Linked DNA regions of Homo sapiens: regions 2, 3 and 4 are each linked to region 1. Evidence: promoter capture Hi-C in 16 types of primary human blood cells and fetal thymus (Javierre and others, 2016). All regions are on one chromosome and are shown on one strand. The core of a region is centred on a gene start or on the middle of the fragment in contact, and the rest is flanking DNA. Distances in the headings are between cores, read along the strand shown. Region 1 holds the start of LINC01550 (long intergenic non-protein coding RNA 1550). Region 2 overlaps LOC105370660 (a long non-coding RNA gene). Region 3 overlaps BCL11B (BCL11 transcription factor B). Region 4 overlaps BCL11B (BCL11 transcription factor B).

The links. The method cuts DNA at HindIII sites, captures the fragments that hold promoters and counts their contacts. A CHiCAGO score of 5 or more calls a contact.
Region 2: a fragment that was not itself captured here is called in contact with the fragment with the promoter of LINC01550 in region 1 in 5 of 17 cell types (non-activated CD4 T cells, activated CD4 T cells, total CD4 T cells and 2 more); the score reaches 8.3 in non-activated CD4 T cells.
Region 3: a contact is called between a fragment that was not itself captured here and the fragment with the promoter of LINC01550 in region 1, in 1 of 17 cell types (activated CD4 T cells). The highest score is 7.8, in activated CD4 T cells.
Region 4: a contact is called between a fragment that was not itself captured here and the fragment with the promoter of LINC01550 in region 1, in 2 of 17 cell types (naive CD4 T cells and activated CD4 T cells). The highest score is 8.2, in naive CD4 T cells.

The regions. Positions count from the first base shown.
Region 1 is chr14:97,974,189-97,981,051 of GRCh38, forward strand. It overlaps LINC01550 (long intergenic non-protein coding RNA 1550), which reads right to left and starts at 3,936. Exons shown (of 3, transcript NR_015430.2): 1 at 3,789-3,936. RefSeq lists an enhancer at 3,936-4,435. The HindIII fragment of the contact is 2,868 bases long and covers 2,856-5,723 here.
Region 2 is chr14:99,277,475-99,284,337 of GRCh38, forward strand. LOC105370660 (a long non-coding RNA gene) reads right to left here. Exons shown (of 3, transcript XR_001750881.2): 3 at 2,537-4,263. Among named protein-coding and RNA genes, the nearest start is that of BCL11B, 8.7 kb to the left of the region's middle. RefSeq lists an enhancer at 6,446-6,863. The HindIII fragment of the contact is 8,266 bases long and covers 1-6,863 here.
Region 3 is chr14:99,245,062-99,251,924 of GRCh38, forward strand. All of the region lies in intron 2 of BCL11B (BCL11 transcription factor B), which reads right to left. Among named protein-coding and RNA genes, the nearest start is that of BCL11B, 24 kb to the right of the region's middle. RefSeq lists an enhancer at 1,750-2,646. The HindIII fragment of the contact is 1,817 bases long and covers 1,765-3,581 here.
Region 4 is chr14:99,219,901-99,226,763 of GRCh38, forward strand. The region is part of intron 3 of BCL11B (BCL11 transcription factor B); the gene reads right to left. Among named protein-coding and RNA genes, the nearest start is that of BCL11B, 49 kb to the right of the region's middle. The HindIII fragment of the contact is 455 bases long and covers 2,319-2,773 here.

The DNA of each region.
Region 1 (6,863 bases), core at 2,686-5,185:
GGCCACGACCCACCAGGGAGCAGGCAGGAATTAAGTGATGCAAAATGCTGGTATGAAATATTGCCATAATTGCTTTCTGGAAAACAACAAGCTTAATTCCCAGTAAAACGGCATTAGAATTTTCCAGGCTCTCAGACGGGGAAAATAAAATGCCCTTCCTAGAAATTTCTCATGCTCTGTGTTTTCTACGAGATGATGAAGACTCTGTAGAGGATAATGTGGAAGGTTTTGGAATCTATGCTCATTGCCCTGTTTCATCAAATGTATGTGGGACTCTTCTCAAACAGACAAAAAAACTCCAAAGCCCAGGCTGATACATATTTTAAAAATTTCTATGAGAATAAAAAATGGCCCTAGAGTCTCTCAGCCTGAGTTCCATCCTGTCACTTAATAGCTAGGCATTGTTGAGTGCCTTACTTAAGGTAGAAAGCTCTGATTTTGTTGTCTGTAAAAATGAGACTAATACTAGAATTTTCCTCATAGATCTGTCAGTACCTTTTAATAAGTTATTCCAGATTAAACACTTAGCCTTGTGCCTGATACAATACATGTTGGCAATGATCTTAACACTTTTCTGTTTCTCTTCTTCTCTTAGCTGATATGTTGAGACTGAGCTGTTTTACTTCAATGACCCTTTCTTCTGTGCCATCACTTCCTTTCTGAATTCATTGAATTATTCTAAGTAGAGAATATCCTCACAAGGTGGTTTTGTGGATCCACAAAACCCTACGGTGGTTCCAGAGTAATGTCTAGTGCTGGATAAATGTCTATGGCCCTGAACTTTGCGGGGAGAGGATTGGTGAGTTGAGTCAATACGTGTTGAACTGTACAGCAAGAAAACTCAATTCCTTTCTTGTGATAATTGAAATCATTTCAATTCATTTCCTTCTTGGTTGGACAGAAACATGTTTTCAGTAGTGAGCAAATCTTGAGGGAATCCATTGACCTGAACACTCATATAATGCATGAAGTTAGTGGACAAAAAATGATATTCATCTTCAGTTAATAATAGCATTTTCTTCTGCAGCACCTAAACTTAGGGGTGGTGAGGGATACTATTGGTGCAGTCACTGTGCCACCGGCAGATGCATGACCTTTGTTGTATCTAACTATAATTGGATCTATGGTGAAATAAAATAAAAACCAACACAAGTTTTGACACTAAGATAATAAATTATAAATTATGGAAGTCTACGCCACCAAGGATCTTGTAAACAACAGGCTGGTCTCTTAGCAACAGACCAAGGAGAGCAGGTTGTTGATAGGAATGGAGCAGACAGGATTGTTTTGTAGTGATTACTACCAAACACCAGGAACTACATTTCAACACCTGCCCGAGGCCCCATCCCTGCCCAGCCTTTCTTTGTCCAATGGCCAGTGACCCTTTCCCACTGACCCAGATGACCAGACCCCATGGAGGGGACAATAAAGATATGGACTGAAGGATAGAGGTGGGCTGAGGATGCCCTGTGGGAACAGGAGGGAACTACAGAGGGGGCGGGAGAAATAAATACATTCTTATTTGATACTGTTTAAAATTAGGACTCTAAACGGGGAACTCCTCTTTTCCCTGCCCCCAACTCCCTTTGGTTTTAAAAATCTCACTGAGAGTGGTTGTCATGAAGGAATTTAGACAAGACTTTGACAAGGTGCCAAAATGGTTTATTTTAAAATGTTGTTCCCGAAAGCACCGGAATATTAAGTTGGAGCAAACGTTGCTTGGAAGAGCGAAGGGGTTGTGGTCACACATTCTTGGAAGAAGGGTGATGGAGATCAAGGTGTTTGTAACCTGGAATTAACAAACGCAGGTGGACCGAAGGACTCAGTCACCAGGGAGTTTTTTTTTACAAATACATGTGTAAGAGTGTGTGTGAGTGTAGGTGAGTGTGGGTGTGTGTGTGAGTGTGGGTGAGTGTGTGAGTGTATGTGTGAGTATGTGTGAGTGTATGTGTGAGTGTGTGTGTGAGTGTGGGCGCGTGTGTGTGAGTGTGGGTGAGTGTGTGTGTGAGTGTGGGTGAGTGTGTGGGTGAGTGTGGGTGAGTGTGTGTCAGTGTTTCTCAACTGCGGGGCATTTTCGGAGTTGGGGTGCAGAAGGAGATTTTCTTTAATTAATTAGATGTTTACCTCCAGCATCATCCCTCAGTGGTTTAGACAATCATCTGCCCACATGTTAGGAATGAGATTCAAGAAAGCCTCTTGGAGTGAAATTTTCCTGGAAATATCCTGATTCTTGGCGGCACACACCCTCTCCCTCTTTCTGTGATAGAAACAGCCAGTTCTGCATTATTCCAAACCACAAAGCAAGCGACATGCCATCCCAACTTAGGATATGAAGGAAGTATCAGCCCCCTAATTGCACAGGGGCCACACAGCCTGCATCTCCCTCCATCGTCCCGACTGCATGCTTTTGATTGTTTCATAATAAAAGTGGCCGGCTAAATTATGACTACTTGTGATTTATTTGCCATGTCATTTAGACTTTTCATATGTATAAATTTGCCATTTGAAAAGAAAGAGAAAATTCACTGCTATTCCCCAAGGCCTCGTTTTTGGGGAGCTCCTCTAACATCATGAACAGAGGCTTTGTGACTTCTAAAGTGATTAGCTCCTATCCGGAGGTTTTGGAACATATCTGTGCTCAGAAGCAGTCTGCCGGGGTGAAATTCTATCTGGAATAGTGTCCTAACCCCATCGGAGAGAGACTCTGAATTTTTAAAACGCCTGTTAAGGACCCCTGGGTATGAGCCCCGCACAAACATGTCTGCGGCACCCACAGCTGTGCCTCAATGAAGGCCCAATTTCTCCATTGCACAGATGAAATTGCAAAGGCCCAGCAATGTTAGCCAAATTCCCCAAGCTTAATGCCAGAGCCTGCTTCCACTCCAGGACAAAGTGGTTTCAAAGTCCATACTTGCCCCACCCTGGTGGCCTGCCCTGGGGAAGGTCACTGCCAAGAAGGCTCCTGGGCCGTCTTGCAGCTGCTGCCTCTTCTTTTAATTACGAAAGAAATGCATCATCATGAAAAATCAACAATACACAAGATATAAAGTTAAAAGGCAAAGTCCCCCCTCATCCTCTCTCTCAGCCCCTCAAGTATATTAGAAGATCTTTTTAGGGTTGAATTTTCACTCTGCAGGAGGGTGTTCTGTATACAAAGAATACGACCCTTTCTTCCTCTTTAATTTGCTTATAGCTGGTACATTTCAAAAAAAAATAAAAAGTGACCCATGCCTTTGATGTTTTTTTTTTCCCCTTATTTTTGTCAACATATTGTGGAGAATGCTGAGTTCTTTGAATTGTTTTTCCCTCTGACAGCAAATCACCAAGATGTACTTTTCCAGAGCCTAACATCCTTGAATTCACAAAAGTTCCAGTCTGGAGTCATAATGTGGAACGTAAGCAGTTCTAGTCAGTTCTGATCTTGGCAACATGAATTCTCCCCTTTCCCCGGGGAGACTCAGAAACCTGCATTTTCACAAGATTTCCCAAGTGACATGTGTGCACAACAGGGTTTGAGAAACCCTGTGCTGGACTCAGCTGCTTCAGAGAGAAGACACAGAACAATTGCCAAGCTATCAAAAAAAGCTCAGACTGACAGCAGAGAACTCAATAGAAATGCCCCATCCGACTGTTGAAACTCAGGCCCAAACTACTGCAAGAGAGTGGAGAACTGTTTCTCCTCTGAAAAGGCCCGATTTCGACTAAATGAAAGCAAAACTGTAGGGACCATTTCCCACCTAGTAGCTTGAAGCCCTACCCGGTCACCAAATTGGCCTAGCTGGTCCTACCTGCATTTGGTAAGAGCCGGGGATTGGGACGAGGCAGAGAGCAAGACCAAGCTGGTTTCCTCTCCGGTTTCCTCCGGGGTGGCTGGGTCCCAGGTCCTGCCCCCGCCTCGCCCTGTGCAAGCTCGGTGCAGTGCAGCCCCTCCGGCTCTCGCCCCACAATGCCGTGCGCAGGCTGGCAGCAGTTCAGCTGAGGACTAAACGCTTGGCTCAAGTTCAACACGGCTGCCAAGATTTGGCAACCAGAGAGTTGCAGGGAAGCAGCAGGCTGCTAAACCCTTTCACATTTTTAATTAGATCCACACACCCATGTCTTTGAGCTATCATAAATATACAGATGACATAGAGAGTATTATTCGGGGTTAAAAAAAAAAAAAAGGAAGCAAACTCTACTAAGGTACAGCTTACCTTATTGAAATAATTTCCCTATCACTAGTTTGAGGGCTGAGGAGGAAAAAGAGAAGGTAGTGATATTTGCTTAAGTAGAACCACATCTGACAAGGGAATCTACCCAGGATCTGGAAAACACAGGTCTCGGCTGCCTTGCTATCTTCCTGGGCTTCGAGAATATCACCAGAAGAGGGCATTCTTGGCGCCGGCTCAGCCCTGTGCAGCCCGGAGCTGGCAGGCAGCAGTGCTGGAGGAGTCATCCCTCAGGCCACTCCCACCTCCCGTTCTTGGGGATAGCTTTAATATCGCCACGGAGCAGAGAGGTTCTCTCCTTCGCCCTAAATGCAGCAACTTTTATACTCCATGTTGCCTTACTATTCTTCTCGTTTTATTTCCTTCTCTGGATTGTTTTTGGGTATCTTCCCCTGGAAAACAATTGCAGATGCTTCTAAATTTTTCTAAGTCCTGTGCCGCAACATGCTCAGCTTCTTCCCCTCAGAACCAGCCTTTCCCCTTGCACTCAGCCCCTGGGCGATTCTCCCTCCGGGGAGGAAAGAAGATTCAACTCTTGATTCAAATGCTCCGGATTTCACTCTGGTTTCGCTGTGTGGCTTTGGACATAGGATTTAAAGCCTTCACGTTGGTTCCCTCATCTGAAAGATCCCAAAGCAATTCTGGCCTCACAGAGTGGCTCTGGGGTTTAAATCCTATGTACAAGGCTCGTAACACAGTCAGCACCCAACACTGAATATTCGATAGAACATGTGCCTTGTAGACAGTCAGCTAACAAACAACTCCACCAAAACAACAGTGCTAGTCCTTAGTCTTCTTCTTCCCTGAACTGCTTCTCCTCTTGTTTGTGACAAAGGCCACCCATGTTTCTCAGACAACTAACCCTAGTCTGATCAACTTGCCGTAAGATGAGAGTGAGCCCATGCATTGGTGTGCATGCCCTTAATTTAAAAGACATGTTAAAAAGGAAATGAAACACTTGAAATGCAGGAAAGAAGTGCCTCTGGTTGTCCCATCTGAGAGCACAAAGTTTATAAATAGAACCATCACAAGCATCAAACACGAGCTGTGCTAAGGCATCAAACACACATACATACACACACACGCACACACATGTTTGTGTCCTTGGCTTATGGTGAACAATTTGTACACCTTTCAGTGGCCCCCGCAGAAAACCAGAGCTTGTAGTGGACACTTGGCAGCATTTGGTCTTTTCCTCATCCTTCCTTCATTTATTTTTTCTTCACATATGACTTGAAAATAGAGCATGTTTTACTGTGGCAAAATTCCCTCTATACTTGACCTGCAAACAGGACAGTCAGGCTAACTGGGATGACCTGGTCCAATGAAGTGGGCTGGAGACAATTCTACGCCCAATAGGCACCTTTCAGCAGATGGAAAGGGTGAGGACAAACAGGTTGGTGGGCCTCAGCACCTCATCTTTTCCTGTAGTCTCTCTTGCTCCCCAACACCTCACTATCTCCCCCAATCCCCAGGTACAGGGGATTTCCTTTCACTAGAAGAAGAAAGGATACAAGCTTCTTATGCACGTGTGCACACACGCACACCCATTCATGCTCACAGACACTGAAACAAGACCCTTACACCAGGACTGTTCCACTTGGAATACAGAGAGCAGTAATGGCTCCCACAGCCATGAAGACCCAGGCTGAGTCCCACTTGCCTCTATGGTCCTGATCAGGCTCTGACAGGGAGCACACTGCTGCTCATGATTAGTTATTTATACATGAGGAAGCAGCAAATTTCTATGAGAGTAAAGTAAGATATGATCCACATCATGCTTTCCTGGAGCAAAAAGGGTCAAGCTGAAGCCGGTCTCATTCTCTGAGCTATCGTGGGCTGCACCTACACGTCCTTCCCACAGACGCATTGAAGGAAACGGGCCCTGTGACACCCTGACCCTTTCTGCACTTTATGTAGGGTGAAGGAGGTAGGCTGGGAATTAATACATGCACTTCATGTATTTAAGGGCCATTCCCTAATAGTACTCTGAGACTTCCTGGGAAATATTATTAACTCAGGACTGACATGTATTAGTCTGCTTGAGCTGCTATAACAAAATACCACAGACTGGGTGACTTAAATCCCAGAAATGTATTTTCTCAGTGTTCTGGAGGCTGACAAGTCCAAGATCATTTCTGGCTGGCCTGGTTTCTGCTGAGGGCTCACCTCTTGTCTTGTAGACAGCCACATGGCCCTCCCTTGGTGTGTGTGCCTGGGGAAATAGCATTCTGGTGTCTCTTATAAAGACACTCATTCTATCATATCAGGACTCTACTTTTATGACCTCAGTAAGTCTTACTTCCTTCGAGCCCCCATTTCCAAATATGGCCATACTGGGGTTTAGAGCCTCAGGATATATATTTGGAGGGATAGAAATTTTCAATCCATAATAAAAGCATTTTCGTACTTTTGTGCATTTTGTACTTTTGGAAGGAGATGGAGTCAGATGGAAATTCTGCTCACTCCGCCACCCACTAGCTGTGTGGCCTTGTATAAATCTATTAACCACTCTGAGTCTTATTTTCCACTTTTGAAAAACAGGGGTTAAAAATGCTTTCCCTAGAGTGTGATTGTGAGTAATAGGTTAGAGTAATATATACACAGTTCCCGGCCAAGGGAGGCACTCAAAAAATGCAACAGCCATAGTGGTAG
Region 2 (6,863 bases), core at 1,951-4,450, 1.3 Mb after region 1:
CTCAGAAAGGAATTTTCAGTTCCGACTCTGGCTGTCAGCTGCTGTCATTGAGACCGAGCAACAATGAGGTGTCTGGTGATAGGAAATGGGGAGGACTAGGGATGGAGGCAGTAATGATCACCTTCCTAACAAGGGTTTTATGAGGCTGTGAGGATTAATTAGTTTGTATCCTTAAGCAGTTTGAGAAAGATGAAGTTTCAGTAAATGCTAAGCTGGAGTTGTAGACATCTGACTCAGTAGAGAGGTCTCCCCCACCCCCAATCCCAGGCTTTGAAAACTCCTATCTGTGCTGTGATGCACTACAAAGGAAGTGAGGGGGAAGCAAGCACTCACTTATGGAAGAACAGAGAAGGAGAGAGAGACATGAGTCAGGCTAGCATCCCTCCAACAGGCTCGGCTAATGAGGATGCTGCAATGGGGGCGCTTACCAAAAAATAAAAATAAAAACCAGCCAACACCTTGTTTCAGATATGCCTTCCAGAGCTAGGAAAGAGAGCTCTGGGGGAGCTCATCTGTTGTTTTGTAGTTTTAGAAACAGCCACGGATGCTTTCGAGTGAATTCAACAAAGGTAGTTTGTATCCTGGAAAACACGTAAGTGGTTTCTCTCTATTTAATAGAGAAGGGTTAAGGTTGCAAGCTGACAAACGAGGCTCTACACCACAAAGTTTTAACTGCAGGCACATTATTGAAAATGAAATCATATTTCTATAGTATGTGGAAGTTATGAAAGTTGTTCCATTATGTACATATTAAAACATTGCCTCTGCTTGAAGATGCACTTTCAGCTTAATTTACAAGGCAGACAATTTGCTACAACAAAAGATAATTAATGCTGCCCAGGGAAAACCGAGACACTGGATTGCTGTGCATTCTGGTATTAGTTTAATCTGGATCCTTTTATAAAAATGATTTCACTGTGATTTCAAGCCTTTGGAATCACTGAAACAAGAATAGCTTCTATAATATGGATGTGGCAATAACATTTCCCATTTGAACTTGTGACAAAGCCCCTCTGCCTGCCTCTCTCTCTCTCTCTCTTTCTCCCCCGCTTCTACCCACCCCGCCGGCCCCATCACACACACACACACACACACGTATCATGAAATTAACACTAGACAGGAGCAAAAAAGATCATCTCTGACCACTCTGATGATCTGGATTCTAAATAAGGCAGATTTATGGTCAATTATTTTAAATCTGTATTTGGACCTCTGGATTCAAATGGGTAGATTCATCAGCTGTTGGGATTCAGCACAGGCATCTGCAGTTTCATTATTTGTATCTGCTTAACAGGAACAATTAGAGACTGAAGAGTGAGGACGCCTGTTTGGGGACCGGTTTGGTATTGTACCCAGACCACACATTCCGGCTGGGAAGGAACACAGTAATGTATAAAGCATTAGTGGATTTAACGCTCTGCATTGTGCTTGGGGAATCGAATTGTTGATGTTTCTGGCAAGAACTCATACTCCAATTGAAATCTATCAAACACCTTAATTAGCTCCGGGTACCTAAATGCACCCAACCAAGAGGCAAGTTGGAAAGCAGCAGAAGGAAAGGGCAGGAGCTGGCACAGAGGTGTCATGGGCCTCCCTGGGTACCTTCAGCACCCTGTGGCCTCACTTTCCAGACCGGAATACATGGGCCATGGTGGAAAGTCAGACAACTTGCAGCTCTCACTGCAGCAGCCACAGGGATGTGATTGAAGGTGTTTGGATGGTTTGACCAGTGTTGGCTAAGGGGATGAGAAGAGGCCGCAGTGACACAAAGCTGTTGCCGATAATAACTGGAGCCTTTTTCTGAGCCAACCGTTCCACCTGGACCTCAGTACAAATTATTGTTTTCAATTACCACCTGTGTATTCCTTCCCATGCAACTTATTGATGTAAAATTACAGCTACACCGGTATAAATAAGTTATGCTGCAGTTGTAAAATGGAAGAAATTTTGTTGTAGCAATTATGTTCAGCAAGATGACAAAATAAATTTCCAGAGCTGTGCCTGCAGTAACCTGGGGAATTTAAACCTCATAATTTCCATTCATTTCAGATAATTTGGAGTAATTTCTATATGTAATAACTTTGTAATGAAAAACACAGCGGTACTGAAGTGATTTCGCTCCGTTTTTTTCTCCTATGGTATACATGGCACAAAATAAATGATAAAAATAATATTTCCTTTTTATATGTGTGTGTGTTGAGTAATTCCTTCAGTAAAAATCATAAACTAATACCCAGACTAAATCTCTGTCCACAAAATGAAAAATAAATTGAGTTAAAGAAAGTGAAAAAGTATGAAGGGCTTTGGATGCTTTATTGTGACTTTATTGAATTGTTTTGTTCCCATGCTCCCTCTGATCCCTAAGGGTTACAGTTCCCAAGTAAGGGGCAAATGCAGGGGAGCCCCAGATGGCTCAGAGGAGGTAGCAGGGGGACCCCCAAAGGCCAGGAAACCCTCGCCAGATGGTGATTTCTCCCCAGAAGCATAAGAGACTCGTTCTCCTCTTGAGATGAGCATCTTTAACGGTTGATTTCACTGCGACTGGAAAGGACCTGGTAGGCTGGTCAGTGGTCCTGTCAGTTCTGACATATTTCCTCCTTTAATTAAAGACAAGGCAAGGTGGAGCACCAGTGCCCTGCCCGACCTATGACGGTGACACCTGCCACTGATGTATGCAGCCCCTGAATGCCACGATTTATTCATCGGAAGCTCCCACTGAGCTGTGAGAAGGTGACAGGAATTACAGCAGCTGCATTAGCTCCCAGATCCACGCGATTAGCCTCTGCCACTGCCACGGTGCACATCAAGGGTTTCCTCAAAGTGAAAAATCGAGGCGTCATTCCCTAAAACCTGCCTGCTAGTAGTCACAGCTAGTGACTGTCAGTAGCCTCCCCACCAGCCATGAGGGCTGCCTGCTGCCTTGAAGTAGAATGGCTCCCCTGCCCTGCAAACCCTGGCCTGCTACATGCTGCCAGGGTGCCCATCTGGAAGCTCAGGCTTTGGCTGAGTCGGCTGGGGAAAGGGCATTCATTTCTCAGGCTCTGTGGTCTCCCTGTCAGATGGGCTTCACCGCTCTGTATAAGCGGTGATGAGTGGGTCTTAGCAAAGCGCCTGGCCCGGTCTCTCGCCATGCAGCAGTCGCATCATAAGCATGGCTGTGATTTGTTCCTTCAACAACACACGCGGATGGGACGCCTGCTGTATGCCAAGCACACCATGGGGGACAGGGCCCAAAGATGGCAATATTGTGAGGTGGTGGTACTGAGGTTCCAAGTTCAGGCAAGCCTGAATCTGACACACCACCCCAGCTCCAAAGAACAGAGCAAGGGAAAACAAAAGTTGATGACATAGTTCAGCAATTATAGTAGTGAGAGTACAGCCCATCACATGGACTCATGGCCATGTGTCCCAAGTGCCATGGGAGCAAAGCAGCAGGGCTCAGGGGTCCTGAGCACAGATTGCAGAATTCTTCCAAGACCCTCAAGACCTACTCATTCAAAGAGACACTCTGTCTAATTACATTGTGAGGCATTTATCTTATCTAATCCTCAGAAGAGAAAGACTTTCATCCCCCTTAGACAGGAAACCCGAAGTCAGCCACCACGAGGTAGAGCCCAAATCACCCCAGGTCTGTCTCTGTGTATAACCACTATGCCGTCCTATACCCAGGTTGGATTTCCAGCCATCCTGCAAGCCAATAACAGGCAGCTGAAAACATCACCAGATGTGGAACCAGAACAGCAAAGACAAAGTCAGTGCTGGATCGAGACATGGAGGAAGGAAGAGAATTACAGAGAAACAAAGTTTGCATTAAGGACACAGTATACTCAGTTAGTAGAAGAGATTTTGTTTGTTTGTTTGTTTGTTTGAGACAGCAAAATCCAACAAGACACACCACGGTTATGAAACCAGATAATTGAGGCAGAGAGAAATGGGGTGGAGAGAGTGGGGTAAGACAGACGTTTCTGCTGGTAAAATTTGAAACAGACAAACAACTCATGTTGGGACAGAGTTTTAGTGTACAAAGCCCTTTTGCTTCCCTGACTTGAGTTTGTCCTCCCAGCAGCCTGTGAGAAAAGCAGGACAGGGCACACACAGCTTGATATACGCCTCCGAGATCGCCAGGGTCAAGTCTCCGCTGCGCCCGCTGCTAGCTGCAAAAGCCTTCATGCGGTTTCTCTTCTCGACATCCCAGGTCCTCCTCTATCAACGCCTCTGTGAGCATCTCATCAGATGACCTCTCAGAAAGCCCCCAGCACAGGCCTGGCACAGAGGAGGCATTGAATAAATGATAGATATTATTATGGAGGCGTTTTACTCATGAAACAAGAGATTCACATTCAACTCAGTCTAAGGTACACACGTCAATATTTCAGGAATGAAATGGGAAATTTCCCCCAGATTTCACTGGTACATAATCGACTAATATTGATGAAGCATCTTGTCTCAGCGCTGCTGTAACAAAATACCTGAGACCGCGTAATGTATACAGAATAGATATTGCCGGGCGCAGTGGCTCATGCCTGTAATCCCAGCACTTTGGGAGGCCAAGGCGGGCAGATCACCTGAGGTCAGGAGTTCAAGACCAGCCTGGCCAACATGGTGAAACCCCATCTCTACAAAAATACAAAAATTAGCCAGGCATGATGGTAGGTGCCTGTAATCCCAGCTACTCAGGATGCTGAAACAGGAGAATCGCTTGAGCTTGGGAGGCGGAGGTTACAGTGAGCCGAGATCACGCCATTTTACTCCAGCCTGGGTGACAGAGTGAGACTCCATCTCAAAAAAAAAAAAAAAAAAAAAAAAAGAATAGACGTTGATTTCTCACATTTCTGGAGGTTGGCAAGTCCAAGATGAAGGCGTCAGAAGGTTCAGTGTCTGGTGAGGGCCCCAGCCTTTGCTGCCAAGATGGTGCCTTGTTGCCACATCCTCCAGGGTGGACAAACACGACAGCTTCACATGGCAGAGGAGCAAACAGGCCTAAGCTAGTTCCCTCCAGCCCTTTCTCTCCTAATCCACTCATGGGGCAGAGCCTCCATGACTCAGTCATCTCCCCAGAGGCCCTACCTCTGAATACCACCACAATGGGGACTGAGTTTCAGCGTGAATTTTGGAGGGGACACATTCAAATCATAGCACACCTACTTTGTGCCAAGGACCAGGCTAACCTTTGCCAATACCCAGAGGAAAACATTATAGTTGTTATCTGCTAGTAGCAGGTCACTGGGCTCTGAGCTTCTCAAAGCAGACAGTCCAGATCCTACCTTGTCTCCTGTGCCTGTGACGGGCACATAGGAGGGTATCAGTGACTGAGCCAGCTGGACCTCACTACAAGACCTAATACACAGGCAAACTAGAAAATCCAAGGCCAGCCGGGCGCGGTGGCTCTCACCTGTAATCCCAGCACTTTGGGAGGCCAAAACGGGTGGGTCACCTGAGGTCAGAGGCCAGAAGTTCGCGACCAGCCTGGCCAACATGGTGAAACGCTGTCTCTACTAAAAATACAAAAATTAGCTGGGCGTGGCAGCAGGCACCTGTAATCCCAGCTACTCAGGAGGCTGAGGCGGAGAATCGCTTGAACCCAGGAAGCGGAGTTTGCAGCGAGCCGAGATCTGGCCACTGAACTCCAGCCTGGGGGACAAGAGCAAAACTCCATCTCGGAAAAAAAAAAAAAAAGAAAGAAAGAAAAAGAAAAACCATGGCCATGGGACAAAAACTGCAAAGAAAGCTCTCAGGGTTCAGAGATGAGCATATGGGAGTTTGAGGGTGGGGAATCATTGTTCATTTTCTTCTCTCGGTCTCCACATTTTCTATAATCTGCATTTATGGTTTTTATTATCAGCCGCCAAAAATTAAAAATTAAAGGTTGTAGCGGCTGAACCTTTTGACTAATTATTCAGGAGGAAAATAATAGACTACATATGAGAAAAAGACCGGAAGGAGATTCAGAAATAACAGCAGCTATTGTGTGAGAATTATGAGATTAGGGGGGATTTTAAAAGAACTTTGTCTCCCACCGGGCGCGGTGGCTCATACCTGTAATCTCAGCACTTTGGGAGCCCGAGACAGGCGAATCACAAGGTCATGAGTTCAAGATCAGCCTGGCCAACATAGTGAAACCCCATCTCTACTAAAAATAAAAAAAATTAGCTTGCTGTAGTGGCGGGCTAATCCCAGCTACTCTGGAGGCTGAGGCAGGAGAATCGCTTGAACCCGAGAGGCGGAGGTTGCAGTGAGCCAAGATCACGCCACTGTACTCCAGCCCAGGTGACAGAGTGAGGCTCTGTCTCAAAAAGAAAAAAAGGAACTTTGTTTCCCAAACCCCCTAGAATGTCACTAAAGACTTGCTGTACATTTTTTTTTCTTTTTTGAAATGGCGTCTGGCTTTATCACCCAGGCTGGAGTACAGTGGCACAATATCTCGGCTCACTGCAACCTCTGCCTCCCAGGTTCAAGCAATTCTGCCTCAGCGTCCCAAGTAGCTGGAGCTACAGGTGCCCGCCACCATGACTGGCTAATTTTTGTATTTTTGTATTTTTAGTAGAGACAGGGTTTCCCCATATAGGCAAAGCTGCTCTCGAACTCCTGGCCTCAAGTGATCCGCCTGCCTCTGCCTCCCAAAGTGCTGAGATTACAGGCGTGAGCCACCGCGCCCAGCCTCGTACATTGTAATAAATAGTTTTGTAAAACTATTCTTTGTGAAAGAATCAAGGAGATGGTTGCCATGCTATGGTGTGAGACCATCCTGGGTGCAGGGAGGTCTGTGGGACGTGGTTGGATGAGACCTTCTTTAAGAAGCTGCCATGCTTTTTCCTTCCTTTCCTTCTGTCTGCAGCCCTCCATTACCTGGGACTGCACGCTAA
Region 3 (6,863 bases), core at 1,423-3,922, 1.3 Mb after region 1:
AGAGTAACAGCTTTGGGAAAATGTTTGAACATTTTCTTAAGAGCTTTGTGGTGGACAGGCTGGGCGTCCAACCACTGCTTTTCTGGGCCTTTAAGGGCCTGTTGAAGTGCTTTAAACAATTGGAGGCCAATTTTTAACACACAAAACTAGAGACTCCTAGCAAGGTGACGATTTGCATACAAATTCTTGTTGGAAGAGGTTATCCTAAGAGAAGTCAGGCTGAAAGGAGGACTGACATTAAATCCCTGTAATTCCAGGAGCTTCGGTGTCCCACTCCAGTGGAGGGTTCCATTCCCACACAATTGGGAAAACACTTTTGTCCTTGAGAAAAGCGGGCTTACTCTTCTCCCACTCGGAAAGAAACTAAGGTCCCCACGAAATCCCCACTTTGAGATGGGGCTGTTGCCCCTGGATGATCACATTTTTGTACAAGGGAACTCCCGGAGGCTCCTTCCGTCCCGGCCTCACCTGGATCCCGGGAACCGCCCGCTCTGTCCCGCCAAGGTGGGCTGAGGAAGACGGCGCCACTCATCAGGGCAATGGCGGCGGGCGGAAGAGGGATCCCCGTGCGCCCCCAGCACCCGGGACGAATGCCACCCCGGCGAAGCGACCCGACCGGCGCGCACGGTTTCGGGGAGGGGACCACTTCCACATTCCCCATGCCCGAGAAGGTCACCCACCCGGGAGAGCGCCCAAGGGCCAGAGAGGAGGCGACTGGTGGAGGAGGGGCGGCCCCGTGCGCACAAAGGGGCCCGGGGCCGGCAGGCTCCCCGCCCTTGACCTTGGGTCTCCGCCTCCATCCATCTCCGCCGGCTGCCAGGGAAGGGGGCTGGCCCGGGGCCAGAGGCGTGCTCGCTGGGCTGCTGCTGGGCTGGGGACCGACGGGGGCGGGGGGGAAAGGAGCCGGGAAAAAAGACTCCAGGGCTGCAGAGTGCTCCGAGGAAGCCTGCATTCCACCACCTTCAGGAGCCGGTCCCGAGGCGGCTCCGATTCACTGCATGCCCCCCGCCCCCCAAAGCAAAAGTTGCACGGATGCACGAGGGAAACCCCTTCCCAAAGCTAGCCCTTCGACTCGCCCACCCCCCGCCTTCCTCGGACCCAGGCCGAGTGGGGGAGGGGAGTGTCAGGGGAGGAAGAAAGGAGCGCGCCTTCCCAGCGAGGCCAGACGCGGGCTGGGTCAGCTGCGCCTCCGCCCGCCCCTCGCCGCCCGGCTCAGGCAGCTGCTCCATTAAGCCCCCGAATTATGCATGGACCTTGAGCCCTCTCGGCCCTCCCGCCCCACCAAGGCACAATCAACGTGCGCAGCGGGCGCGGGTCAAAGAGAGAGGGAAGGAGGTGGACGATGGGCGCAAGGCCGTGGGCGAATCAGAGGCCGGCGGCCAGGCGGGGGCCAGGCGCGCCCGCAGGCCTGGGAACAGTGCCGAGGAGCCTCCCGACCCGGCCAGGGCCAGCCGGGAAAGGGGCACCGCTCGCAGGGGAGGCCCCCGCGCAGTTTTGAAGTTGCCAAAGTGTCCGCGCCGTGCCGGGTGCGGGGTCCGGGAGATGCAGCCGCCCCCGCGGAGCTCTGCGCCCCTGGCCTCGGGGAAGGCCATTGTGTTCTCCTGTGTGGCAATGAAGGGGGCTATGGACCCCAACCATTGAGCCCTTGGAGGGAGGGGCCTGAAGACCCCTCGGGCAGGGCGGGGGAGGCTGTCTTGCGGGCGGCGGAGAGGATGGGTATGATTTGCTCGGGATAGGCACCGTCGCGGGGAGGGGAGGAGGCCAAGCTTGAGGAGGGGCTGCTGGAGATGGAAGGAAGTGAGAGGAGACTTGCAAGTTGCAAACGTCGGGGAAACCGGAAAATTGCAGTAGCGGGGAGGCAGGTGGCGCCCAGAGGTTCGAAAGCAGAATTGGGAGGACTTCGATGTCCACCTCGCAGACAGTGACCCAGGCCCCAGAGGGCTCCGCAGCCTGGAGCCTCGCGTCCCGCCTCCCCGCAACACGCTGTTTTCAGCGTTCCAGACCACAGCGCTGCAGTCTACGCTGCCCTGACGCTGGAGTGTGGACCTTGTTTTGCTCCTCGGGGCCCGTCTGTTTCTGGAAATGACTTCTTTCTCTCTTTCCCCTTCTCCCCAAAGCAAAGGCCAGGTCAGGAAAATTATATACTTCGTTTTCCCAACAAATAAAGTCGCCTAGTTTGCAGGGAAAGTTTTACAAGCCAATGATGCAGAGAGAAGACCACACTGTTTAGCTTTCTTAATTGGCTGGCTTTGAACTTGAGGTGGGAGGAGAAAAGAACCCGCTCCAGCCCCAGGAAAACTTAGTTTTGCTGGGTTTACCAACTCCAACAGTTTTTAGCCAGCTGCTGAAGGTGGCAGGGAGTCACTGAAGGTTTGTCCCATTTTCTCCCGAACAGAGAAGAATTCAGACAGTTGTTGTCTCTCTGAGCCCAGGACAGCCAGTCTCTGCCCTCAAACCCCAAGGGAGGAGCCTGGAATCCCTGGTTGGCTGGCTACACTCTCCAGGAGGTGTGCTCTACCCTGAAAAAGGCTTTGAAATAAAGCCACCTTCTCCACTCCTTTCCAGGATGCCTTTGGCACCTGCAGTCATCAGGAGGTAGACGCGTGTTTTCTGGACACTCTTGTGGATTGGACGGATGGCTTCATCTGTGCCATATCACTAGAGGCACAGCCTAGGCACTGGGGCTACCAGCTCCTAGGGCTCTGTGCCTCTGGATTCATCTTCAGCAGACGCTGACCCACGCACCTGTTTGCCTGCACCTTTGAGGTTGTGTCCACACCCGCAACCTGAAGGCCATGGAAGCTGCCCAGGCACTCAGCCCCCAGGGCAGGGGATGGGGGGAAAACAGCCCTGATCAAACATTGCCTTGGCTTAGAGACAGAGCAGGCGGTCCTGGGCTGGGGGGCTCACCCTGCCCTTGGCTGCTGCCTTTTCTCCACACCAGGAGTGGGGGAGTCTGACTTTTCACCTCCAACAAAAAGGCTATTTTGTTACTATTTTTCCGCCCAGAGGAGGCTGTGGTCCCAGTTTCCCAGCTGTCTGAGCAGCGAGGGGCAGATGCTTTCCCAGACCTGTGGCTGATCAAGGGCTCCCTCCTCCCTCCCTCCCTGCTCTCCTCTCCCAACCCTCAGCACAGACTCCTCCTTTCTGAGACACCCCAGGGCCCTCCAGACCAAAACCAGCGGACCAGCAAGAAGGCGTCAAGAAAACTCAAAAACAAAATAAAATGAAGCCTCGGGTGCCTTGCCTTCTCCAGCAAGGCCTCTTCTTCCCTGGGTCCAACTCGAGGCTTGCAAGTCCTGATCACACCCTCCCCTGAGGAGGCTCCCACTCCCTGTGTGCCCAGAGGTCACTGGCCGCCCCCAGCAGGCTCTGGGCCAGGGTGGGTCCAGATCTTGCAGGGCCCGAGGTTTATACAATTCAGGGTACACTCATCACAAAGAAAAGAATGCCAAACCACACAGGGACATTAGGGACAGGGCCTGGTCACACAAGGGGCTCTGAGCTTCAACTGTTTACCTCACGGTGAGTGGACCAAATTCTCCCATAAGGATCTTCACAGCCTGGGGCAGAAAGACCTAAGCTTTCAATCTAACAGTTTTCATTTTCACCACCAGTTTCTTCAGAGAAAACTGACTCCTAAGCCTCATTAATGTGAAAAATGAGGAAAGTTGGGGGAACTACTGGGTGGGAAAGGAATTGAGGTGGGAAATGCACGACCTTCTGCCTGGCTCTTGCAGCTGTTAGAAACCACTGGTGGCTCCATCTCACATTTCAGCCCAGCAGGCTCAGCCCCAGAGACGGGGAAGATCTGTCTGCTCAAGGTCACACAGCATGCCAGCCACAGTAGGATGCCATCCTAGGTCTCGAGCCAGAGTCCACTGTGCCTGCCTCTCCCCACTCTGGACTCAACAGGGCCACTTGCCTGTAACTCATGACGAGGTGGGGGCCAGCTCCTCCCAAAATGCAGTCAACATGAAACCACAGATGTGTGCAGGACAGGTGGGTGCCTACTGTCTTGGTTCTTTCACCCCACTCTGGAACCCAAGTCCCATCACCAAGATTCGACCTCAGAGTGGAAATCACTCATTGCCCAGCCAGGAGCAGAAAGGGCCTGCACCAGCCACAGTTCAAGAACACAGGATCCCACGAGGCCTGGGCTCCTGGGACATGACACAGTGAAGACCCAGGGCCTCCCTGGGAAGTCAGGAGCCTGTCCTCTTTTTTTATTTTAATTTTAATTTTAAGTTCTGGGGTACATGTGCAGGGTGTGCAGGTTTGTTACATGGGTAAACGTGTGCCATGGTGGTTTGCTGCACCTACCAACCCATCGCCTAGGTATTAAGCCCAGCATGCATTAGCTATTTTTCCTAATGCTCTCCCTCCCAGGAGCCTGGTCTCTAGGCGCAACTGAGCTGGTGACTCACCGGACAACTGTGCAAGGTACCTCTCTATGACTCAGTTGCCTCATCTGCAAAATGAAAGGAATACCTGATTTACCACCCTCGTGGGGCAGAGAGGTGGATGGAATGTAGGCACAGTTATGACCACAGTGAAGAACATAACTGCCGGAGTTGACACCCTGGGACCCTACTCACCGCTGTGTGACCTTGGGTAAATAACTTAACATCTCTGGGCTTCAGTTTCCTCTTCTATAAAGTGGGGCTGATATTAGCATATCATAAGGTCATAGGGAGGATTACACCAGTTAGTATCTGCAGAGTCTTTAGAATAGTGTCTGGCACACAGTAAGATCTAGTAAGTATGAGTTAAATTTAACATCAGGCTGGGTGCGGTGGCTCGTGCCTGTAATCCCAACAGTTTGGGAGGCCGAGGCGGGTGGATCACCTGAATACAGGAGTTTGAGACCAGCCTGGCCAACATGGCAAAACCCCATCTCACTAAAACTACAAAAATTAGCCAGGCAGGCGCCTGTAATCCCAACTACTCAGGAGGCTGAGACAGGAGAATCTTTTTTTTTTTTTTTTTTTTGAGATGGAATCTCCTTCTGTCGCCCAGGCTGGAGTACAGTGGCATGATCTCGGCTCACTGCAAGCTCCACCTCCTGGGTTCACACCATTCTCCTGCCTCAGCCTCCTGAGTAGCTGGGACTACAGGCACCCGCCACCATGCCCAGCTAATTTTTTGTATTTTTAGTCGAGACGGAGTTTCACCGTGTTAGCCAGGATGGTCTCGATCACCTGACCTCATGATCCCCCCGCCTCGGCCTCCCAAAGTCCTGAGATTACAGGCGTGAGCCCCCGTGCCCAGCAGGAGAATCTCTTGAACCTAGGAGGCAGAGGTTTTGGTGAGCTGAGATCGCGCCCTTGCACTCCAGCCTGGGCGACAGCGAGACTCTGTCTCAAAAATAAATAAATAAATTTTACATGAAATTAGGAAAAACTCCATCTCTTTGTTTCCTCAGTGAAAAGATGACCCCAAAGGCACAGGGTGACAGCCAGTCAGCCTTATTTCTATAGATTATCAGCAGAGCCCACTCCTAACAGATTCTAGACCTGGTGGTTAATTCATTAGCCAAGCATGCAAATGAGCAACAACCACTCAAAAAAGCTGTCAAATGCCTGATTAAAAAAACTTTAGTCAATACTAACTATTTACTGTCAAATAGACAAACTAAGAATAATAATATTAACTCAGGCTGAATGTTGGTTAAGTTCACCCCTTGGGAGCCCAGCTGCCTTTCTCTCTTTTTCTTACCTTATCTCTCTCTCCTGTTTCCTGAATTACTGCTGGAAGTATGGAACTACGTACATAAAACAATAAATAAGGCCTCAAACCTTAAGAGAAAAAAAAAACACCCATTTATGTGACCAGTATTGTCTGTCTTTTTTTTAATCCAATAAAACTTTCAACTACAATCGGTGCTGATGTCACCATGTTAGCGGCACACACTCTTGACTCTGGTTTGCACAGTTCACATGGCAGGTGGGTCCACCGCCTCCCTGGAAGGCCAGTGGGACAGGAAGGGCTCACCCCCTTTCTCAGCTGAGGAAACTGGGACTCCACCAGGGGAGATGGCCTCAAGCTACAGGGGTGGGCACCCTGGGATGGCAAAAAGTCACCTGTCCTGACTCGAGATAATTGGGGTCTGGACTCAGCTCTGCCAGTAACTAGTTATGTAAGTTCAGACAAGTCACTGAGCAGGTGAGAAGGGAAGAGTTGGCAGCAAGGTCCTTCCAGGAGGCTAGGAAGCCAGACCCTTCCTCTGGATCCCACCGGCAGGATCTCCATTATCAACAACAGCTAAAACCCACAGGAACCTGTTCTATGTATACCTTGTCTGAATCAAACCTTATAACAAGCCCAAAACACAAGGAACATTATCTCCAGTTATAGGTACCGAGACCTGGGGAGGCAAACAGTTGGCTGACAGTCACATAGCAAGACCCTGGCAAAACCACAATTCCACAAAATAAAACAAATAATTTGTATTTATGGGGGAAAAGTCTATGCAACAGTGAATATAAAATAAAAGAAATAATCATATGTATGGGAAAAAATCTAAAATTCTGGCCCAGGTGCACCTGAATTTACAGTGTACTTCATTCTTTGTCACCACCCATCTCTCCAATGCCCTCATTAGGAAGTACAGGACAGTATATACAAAAGCCACAGACTGAAGGCCATGGTCCCTGGGGGTCTGAGGACTTCTGGCTGTATCCACAGGGTCATATCTGGGATGGGCTTCAAAGACCATTTTGGATGGGGTCAGAGGTGGTGCCCGCCATCAAGGCCCCACCAGCCAGACAGACAGAGTTAGAATACCCATCCCCAAAATCCTCCACACCCCTTGCTATCCAAGGAAACTAGGCCTGACTGAGTCTGACTCTGCTTTGCTGTGT
Region 4 (6,863 bases), core at 1,296-3,795, 1.2 Mb after region 1:
TAAAATATACTGAAGGTGGTAGCCCCCAGCAGTCCAGTGGTGACTATAGGGCCACACCTAGGCTGGCTGAGGCTGGATTCAAACCGCCCTCAGGTTTATTACCCACCTAACTTGGACCAGTTGTTGCCACATCCCTGAGAGGCAGGTTCCTTGGCTATCAACTCCAACAGTCCAAAAAACACTAAAATTACCCAACAGTCAGATAAGGATGCGGAGAAATGAGAACCTCTGTGCACTGTTGGTGAGAATGTAAAACAGCGTAGCCACTATAGAAAACGGTTTGGCAATTCCTCAAAAAATTAAATATAGGATTACCCTTTGACGCAGAAACTCCACTTCCGCAGAAACTCCAAAAGAACTGAAAGCAAGGATTCAAACAGATTATTGTCCACCCACGTTCTTAGCTGTGCCATTCACAATAGCCAAAAGCAGCCCAACTGTCCATCAATGGATGGGTGGATAAGCAAAATGTGGTCTATCCATATGATAGAATATTATTCAGCCTCAAGAAGGAAGGAGATTGTAACACGTGCTACAACATGGATGGACCTCGAAGACACTATACTAAGTGAAATGAGCTAGGTACAAAAGGACAAGCACTGTATGATTCCACTTACCTAAGGAACCTAGAGTAGTCACATTCAGAGAGACAGAACGGAGAATGGGGGGCTGGGGAGAGGGGAAATGGGAAGTTAGTGTTTAATGGTGCCAGAGCTCTGTTTGGGATGATGGAAAAGCTCTGGAGATGGACGGTGGTGATGGCTGCATAACAATTGCAATGTACTTATTGCCACCGAACTGTGCACTTAAAAATTGTTAAAATGGTAAATCTAATGTTTATCTTACCACAATTAAAAAAACTCACAATCGAAGCATTGTGAGAATCACTGGAGATACACAGAAAGCCCACAGCACACAGTGGACCCTTGATCAATGGTATTTTTTATTTTATTTATTTTTTTTATTTTTAGACAGCATCTCGCTCTGTTGCCCAGGCTGGAGTGCAATGCTGTGATCTCGGCTCACTGCAACCTCCACCTCCCGGGTTCAAGCGATTCTCCTGCCTCAGCCTCCCAAGTAGCTGGGACTATAGGCGCCCGCCACCACGCCCAGCTACATTTTTTTATATTTTTAATAGAGATGGGGTTTCAACATGTTGGCCAGGATGGTCTTGATCTCTTGACCTTGTGATCCGCCTGCCTGCCTCAGCCTCCCAAAGTGCTGGGATTACAGGCGTGAGCCACCGCGACTGGCCTGATCAAAGGTATTTTTTAAGATTAAAATGTTAATAACTGAGTTGGCTAATAAAACCCAAGGAAATTCATGCAAAAGAACTTGAGTCAGAACTGGTTAAATACAACACCAAGAGCAGACTCACGCACCCAGTGGGCCTTGCCCCACTAGCTATTCCTCACTTCTTAACAAAGGCAATCATTTAAAATGTCCAGTTTTATGAAAAGATTCCAGCGGCCCCCGTTTCTGCAGGTACTGACTCCATTTTTGCATTCACCTCCCTGGAGAAGTCCTGAGCGCCACGATCCCTTCCTTGAGAATCATACAATACTGGCGTTCTAATTACCCGGGGCTCAGGCTGGCCCAGTGGCAGCTCTGTGATTCACAAGCTCACTCCTCTCCCTTGGCTGTTCCTACTCACACCTGCCAGGTACAAGGCCAGGCGGGAGGGGCAGGCCAGGACCAGACGCAAGGACAGGAGCAGGATGCCCACGTGGGCCCCAGGCTCGAGGAGGCTTGGATTCAAATCCCACCTGTGCCGTCCACCAGACGCGCAAGGAAAGCAATTTCGCATCTGCGAAAACCAGGAGCGGTCCTGTCACCTCTCACCTGTGAACTACAAGAGAAGCTGCCTGGAAAGCCCAAATTCAGAGCTGGGAGAGAAGGCCCCACCTGGGCACCCCATCGCAGTGAGTTCCTCTAGGGCAAGGACCCTGTCACGCCCATTTCTGGACCCTAGGGTCTAGCCCAGGGTCTGGCACATGTATGACCAGCGTATGAAGGAAGACCTGGGGGATCCTCCCGGGAACCATATCTGAGTTTGATCTGGTTTCCCTGGCATAATGCTGGGCCCCACAGAGGGACCCCTGCCCACCGAGGGTTCCGTCCCACTGCTTTTTGGGTAAAAGTGGCCAGCCTTGATTATGTTTGAATAAACTGTATCTCATGGTTTAGACTATTTGGGTTTAATTGTAAAATATACACAGAACACAGCCCCTCCACCCCGACCCTGCCCTCAGGTTCGAAAAGTCAAGTACATTTTGTTCCCCTCTCCCCGCACCATAAAAACAACAAAGAACACCTCAAGCTTTTTTAAGGGCTATTATTTCTTTCGCTCCCCAGTGGGGGAAAAAAAATGGATTCCACTGTCCTGTGTACAAAAACAAGGAGGATGCTCATACAAGAATGTGGCTAGCAGCGTTTTCTGTGTTTCCTCTTTCTCTCACAGGTGTAGACACTGCCTTTTCTGAGTCTTCATCATCCCCCAGCATCTCCTGGGCACCTGCTGGGACTCATCCCCGCCCCAGCCACTGGAGAGACAGAGATGAGCCTGGTCGAGGAAATCGACTTGGTTAAGGCTGGCGTGGGACCACATGCCAAGTCCCTGACTCCCAGTCAGAACCCCAAAACCCAATTTGAGGTGATCCGATGAGAAAATCTCGCTCATGCTCTAGCCCTCTTCTTCAAGGTCAAAACTGCCTTCTGGTGGACTGAGGATCGGTGACTTTGTTTCCCTCTATGTCCAGCCAGGGCTGGAGGAAGCTTGTTGTCAGCAGGCCCCTTCCCAGAAGACACCACATCCACACCTGTCACTGCCCACAGTGACTGGACCCTCAGCCTCAAGTTCCCCGGTGGTAAAACCCCTGTAGATCTCCCAACCCTCCAGGCTCCTGTAAGCCCAGCCCTTTAATTTCTTTATTTCCCTTTCTTTCTTTCTTTCTTTCTTTCCTTCTTTCCTTCCTTTCTTTCCTTTCTTTCTTTCTCTTTCTCTCTTTCTGTCTGCTACAAGTAAACTTTATTTGATGTAATGTAATACAACATTTTCAAGTTTCACAATGAGCGTTTGACATAAATAATCATTTAAATTAGGAATATAAGTATGCACGGTCACTTGAGCAAATTTGCAGTTCAGGGGTTGGTACGAGCTTTGTCTGAAAGCTTTTTTCTCCTTTAGGAAAAAGTAGCCCTTCCCTTCACCTGGTAAGAAGCACTATCAATGGGAGTTAGAAGAAGTCCATAATCCACCTTGGAATTCCAGCTGATCTGTGAGAGGACAGCTTTCTGTATTCTAGAAAAATAATATTCTCTTTCAGTTCATTCATTTTTCCCCATGGAAGATATTGGCACTCTCTTCATCTACTGTCTTTCTGTCTCCTTAGCTGCTGCTTATTACATAGAACCATTTTTTAAAAATATAATATCTGCAAAGAGACCTCTTCTGTTCCCTTACCTCCCCTAATGTCTATTATTTTGTGGAGAGGGTAGGGTGGTGGGAGCCAGGGGCCAGAATTGCTTAGACACACATTTGATCTCAGGTACAGAGAACACAAATTCTCTGGAAGGAACCCCATGGGGGTCGGGAGCATTTTCCAAGAGTGGTCCAGGTGACCTTCAATTCACACAATTCTGTTTAATACGGCGCTGCTCCATGAGGATGAGCATATGTATGCCCCATTTCCAGAAACAGCACCACCTTTCATGGAAAACCCATTACTCTCTCGCTTCTTCCACATAACATGCGGTTATGGACCAGCCATGGGCCCAATGCACCACTGGATAAAATGAGAGTCAAAAACACGCCAATAATCACGTGGATTCCAATGCAGTCAGGCACCACTTGTGCTTCATTCAGGTAAAAATCCTCACAGAAGGTACCCCCCACCTCTCAGCAATGCGACCACAAGGACAAGCTGTCCTCAGGTGGGACACCTCTCCATCCTGAGATCTGCTCTTGAGCTGCACCATGGCAATAAGTGAGGGAGCACCCGAGCAGCAGCCAATTGATTCATTTTTTTCAAACAGAGAAAGGCGCCATGGGGACATGCATTTCACATCCACTGAGTGAGAAGGCCCTCCATGGGCACCCCCACCACGGTGAGTTCCTCTAGGGCAAGGACCCCGTCATGCCCATTTCCGGATCCCTCAGTCCAGCCCAGGGTCTGGCACAAGGATGACCAGTGCATGAAGGAAGACCTTCAGGACCCTCCCAGGTACCATATCAGAGTTTGATTTGGTTTTCTACCAGCAGCTCCTTCTCTGTTGTCCACTACAGCCCAGTGGGAAGCCAGACGGGAGAGCTCCAAGTACAGCTGGGAGGCTGGCCAGACCTGAGTCTGAATCTCTGTTTTGAGACTCTCTGTCCAAGTTCTGCTATTTGTGTGCTGTGTGACCCCTGGTGGGTTGTGTGGCCTCTCTGAGCCCCAATATCCTCATAAGCAAAAGGGTGGGGGAGTGCCTCTTCTTGGGAGCGTTACAACGATGAGATGTCATGCCTAGGACTGAGCCGGCCCTTTAGCAAACAGTGGCAAGCCCCAGGAACACTGATGATGTTGGCCCTTCCTCTGCCTTCATTCACACTAAGAAACTCTCCCAGGCAAGTGGCTTTCCAAGAGCTAAGTCGTCACTGGGGTGCCGATTACCCAAGGCCAGAGTCTCACAAGGCTTTCCGGCATCTCAGCTTTCTCCCTCCTTCCCTTCCCACCGGCCTTTTCCCTCTGATTCCCCCAGGTGCTGGTCATGGGCTGTGGCCACGCCCAGATGGTAGCTGTTCATGGGACCTGCCAGTAGAGGGATGGTAAGCAAGTACTTCAGTGTCCCCATTTTACAGGTGGGGACACTGAAGATTGGAGAGAGGAAGTAAGTGGCTAGCCTGGGATCACATACTCACTCCCATTCACTGCAAGGGAAGGACCGAGGATGGCCCCATCTCGAGAGCTTCCCACAATGCCTGCAGTCTAACACGGGTCCACAATGACATTTAACTTCAAACACACATCCATGCCACAGAGCCCCACAGGGACAGGGCAGCCAGCTGTCAAAGCACAACCCCAGAGTCTCAAACCCAGGATGTGTCTGGTGGGCTCCCACTGCAGATAGCAGAGCTGAAGTCCAAGGCACCCAACGTGGGGCTCCTCAACATCAGAGCTCTACCTGCTACCAATCTCATTGCAGGGTTCACACCAAGCCTCATGGTCAGGCAGAAATCAATCTTTAAGTGGCTTCCACTGGGCGACGAACTTCCTTTTCTGGTTTTCAATAAAAACTCAAGAGAGGTAGTATGGCCTAGTGGGCAGACCCAGGTATGAGTCAGCTCTGCCACCCATGTGTCATGGCTTCATCCCCACTCTCTGCCTTGGTTTCCCCATTTATATAATGAAGAGGTTGGAGGAGATGATCTCTTGGGATCCCTGGTCTTAGATTGTTATAGACTGACTTGACCTCAGGTCACCCGAGAAGAACCCATTTCTGGGCCAGTCCGCTCCACACAGAGGGCAATGCAAGCCTCCTCTGCCACTTTCCGAGTCCCTTTAAAGGAGAACGGGGCTGCCTTGCTCTGAGGTCTCTGATGTCCTTGGCCAGTGCTGCTTCTTCACATCCACTAACTGCTTGAAAGCGCTGCATCCAGCACTGCATTAAAAATTAATTACACATGCTATCTTATTGCCAGTGCATAATGTAATGAGCACCAGCTGTGCTAAACAGCCAAACTCCTTTTTAAGACAGCTATTAAAAAAAAAGGGAAAAAAAGAAAGAAAGAAAGAAACTGCACTTCCAAATGCCTCTCCTGTCAGAGCAGAAAAACAGCAACATCTTGTATGGATTTGAACAGAATTCTTTGATTTAGCTCTGCCTTCAGAACGTCTGAAGGGCCAACTCAGAGAGTGAAATGGAATCTGGCGAGGCTGCAGCGATCTCCACTCAGGGATTTGCTGGGGCCTCTTTTATCTAAGGACAGTCATGCTGGTAGGTGCCCCAACTGGGGGGCTTCCCCCAACTGGGGGGCTTGCAGCTCTCCATGGCTTCTCCTGGCACTTCCTCCGGTCACAGAAAGAGGCGTCTGGGTTCTCAAGGCAGTCGGGCATGGACAGCCTCTGCAGCAGCGTGACCTCAAGAAGCAGGCAGGTGCTAGGGTGGAATCAACAGCGCTTGCACGCCAGGAAGAGCAACAGCACTGTGAAGGCTGGGTTGCAGATGCTGGGACCACCGGCCCTTGGGCGATGTAGACATTGCAAGGCATACAGATGACTCTCTAAATTTTTAATAACTCCCCTGAAAGCCCTTTTCCTACATGGAGCCAGCCCCCATCAACACTAGGACCTGTCTGGTTAGCCCAGAAGGATCCTAACAACAAACGTTACTTTGCAAAGGGAATCCCATGAGCATGTTTTCCAACCTTCCCACGACGGAGCTCTGCTGTCCACACACGCTCACTCACACGGTTCTTTTTTTGTCTTCACCCCCATACTCACCCCTCCCTCCAGTCTCAGTGGCCGATCTAACACCCTCCTGGAGTGTCTCTGGCACCCCCTGCACCAGAATCAAGGCGACGCATCAGCAGGGGCCTGGTGAGGCTACCATCTCTGTCCGTATCACCGTTTGGCTTCCCATGGATCCTCCGGTGTTAATCGAACCCAGTCCAGAATGAAACTACAGCTTGCTTCTTGTTTGGTATGAAATGTGCAAAGCACAGACCATATCATTAACACAAAACTTCCAGAAATAAGGCCACTTTCCAGGCAGACTGCATTAATTGCATCAGGCTTCCACAGCTAGCGTGGTCTAATCCACGGCGCCCCATTGGACGGCTCTGGTTATAAAACCAACACAAAATGAACACTGGGATATAATTG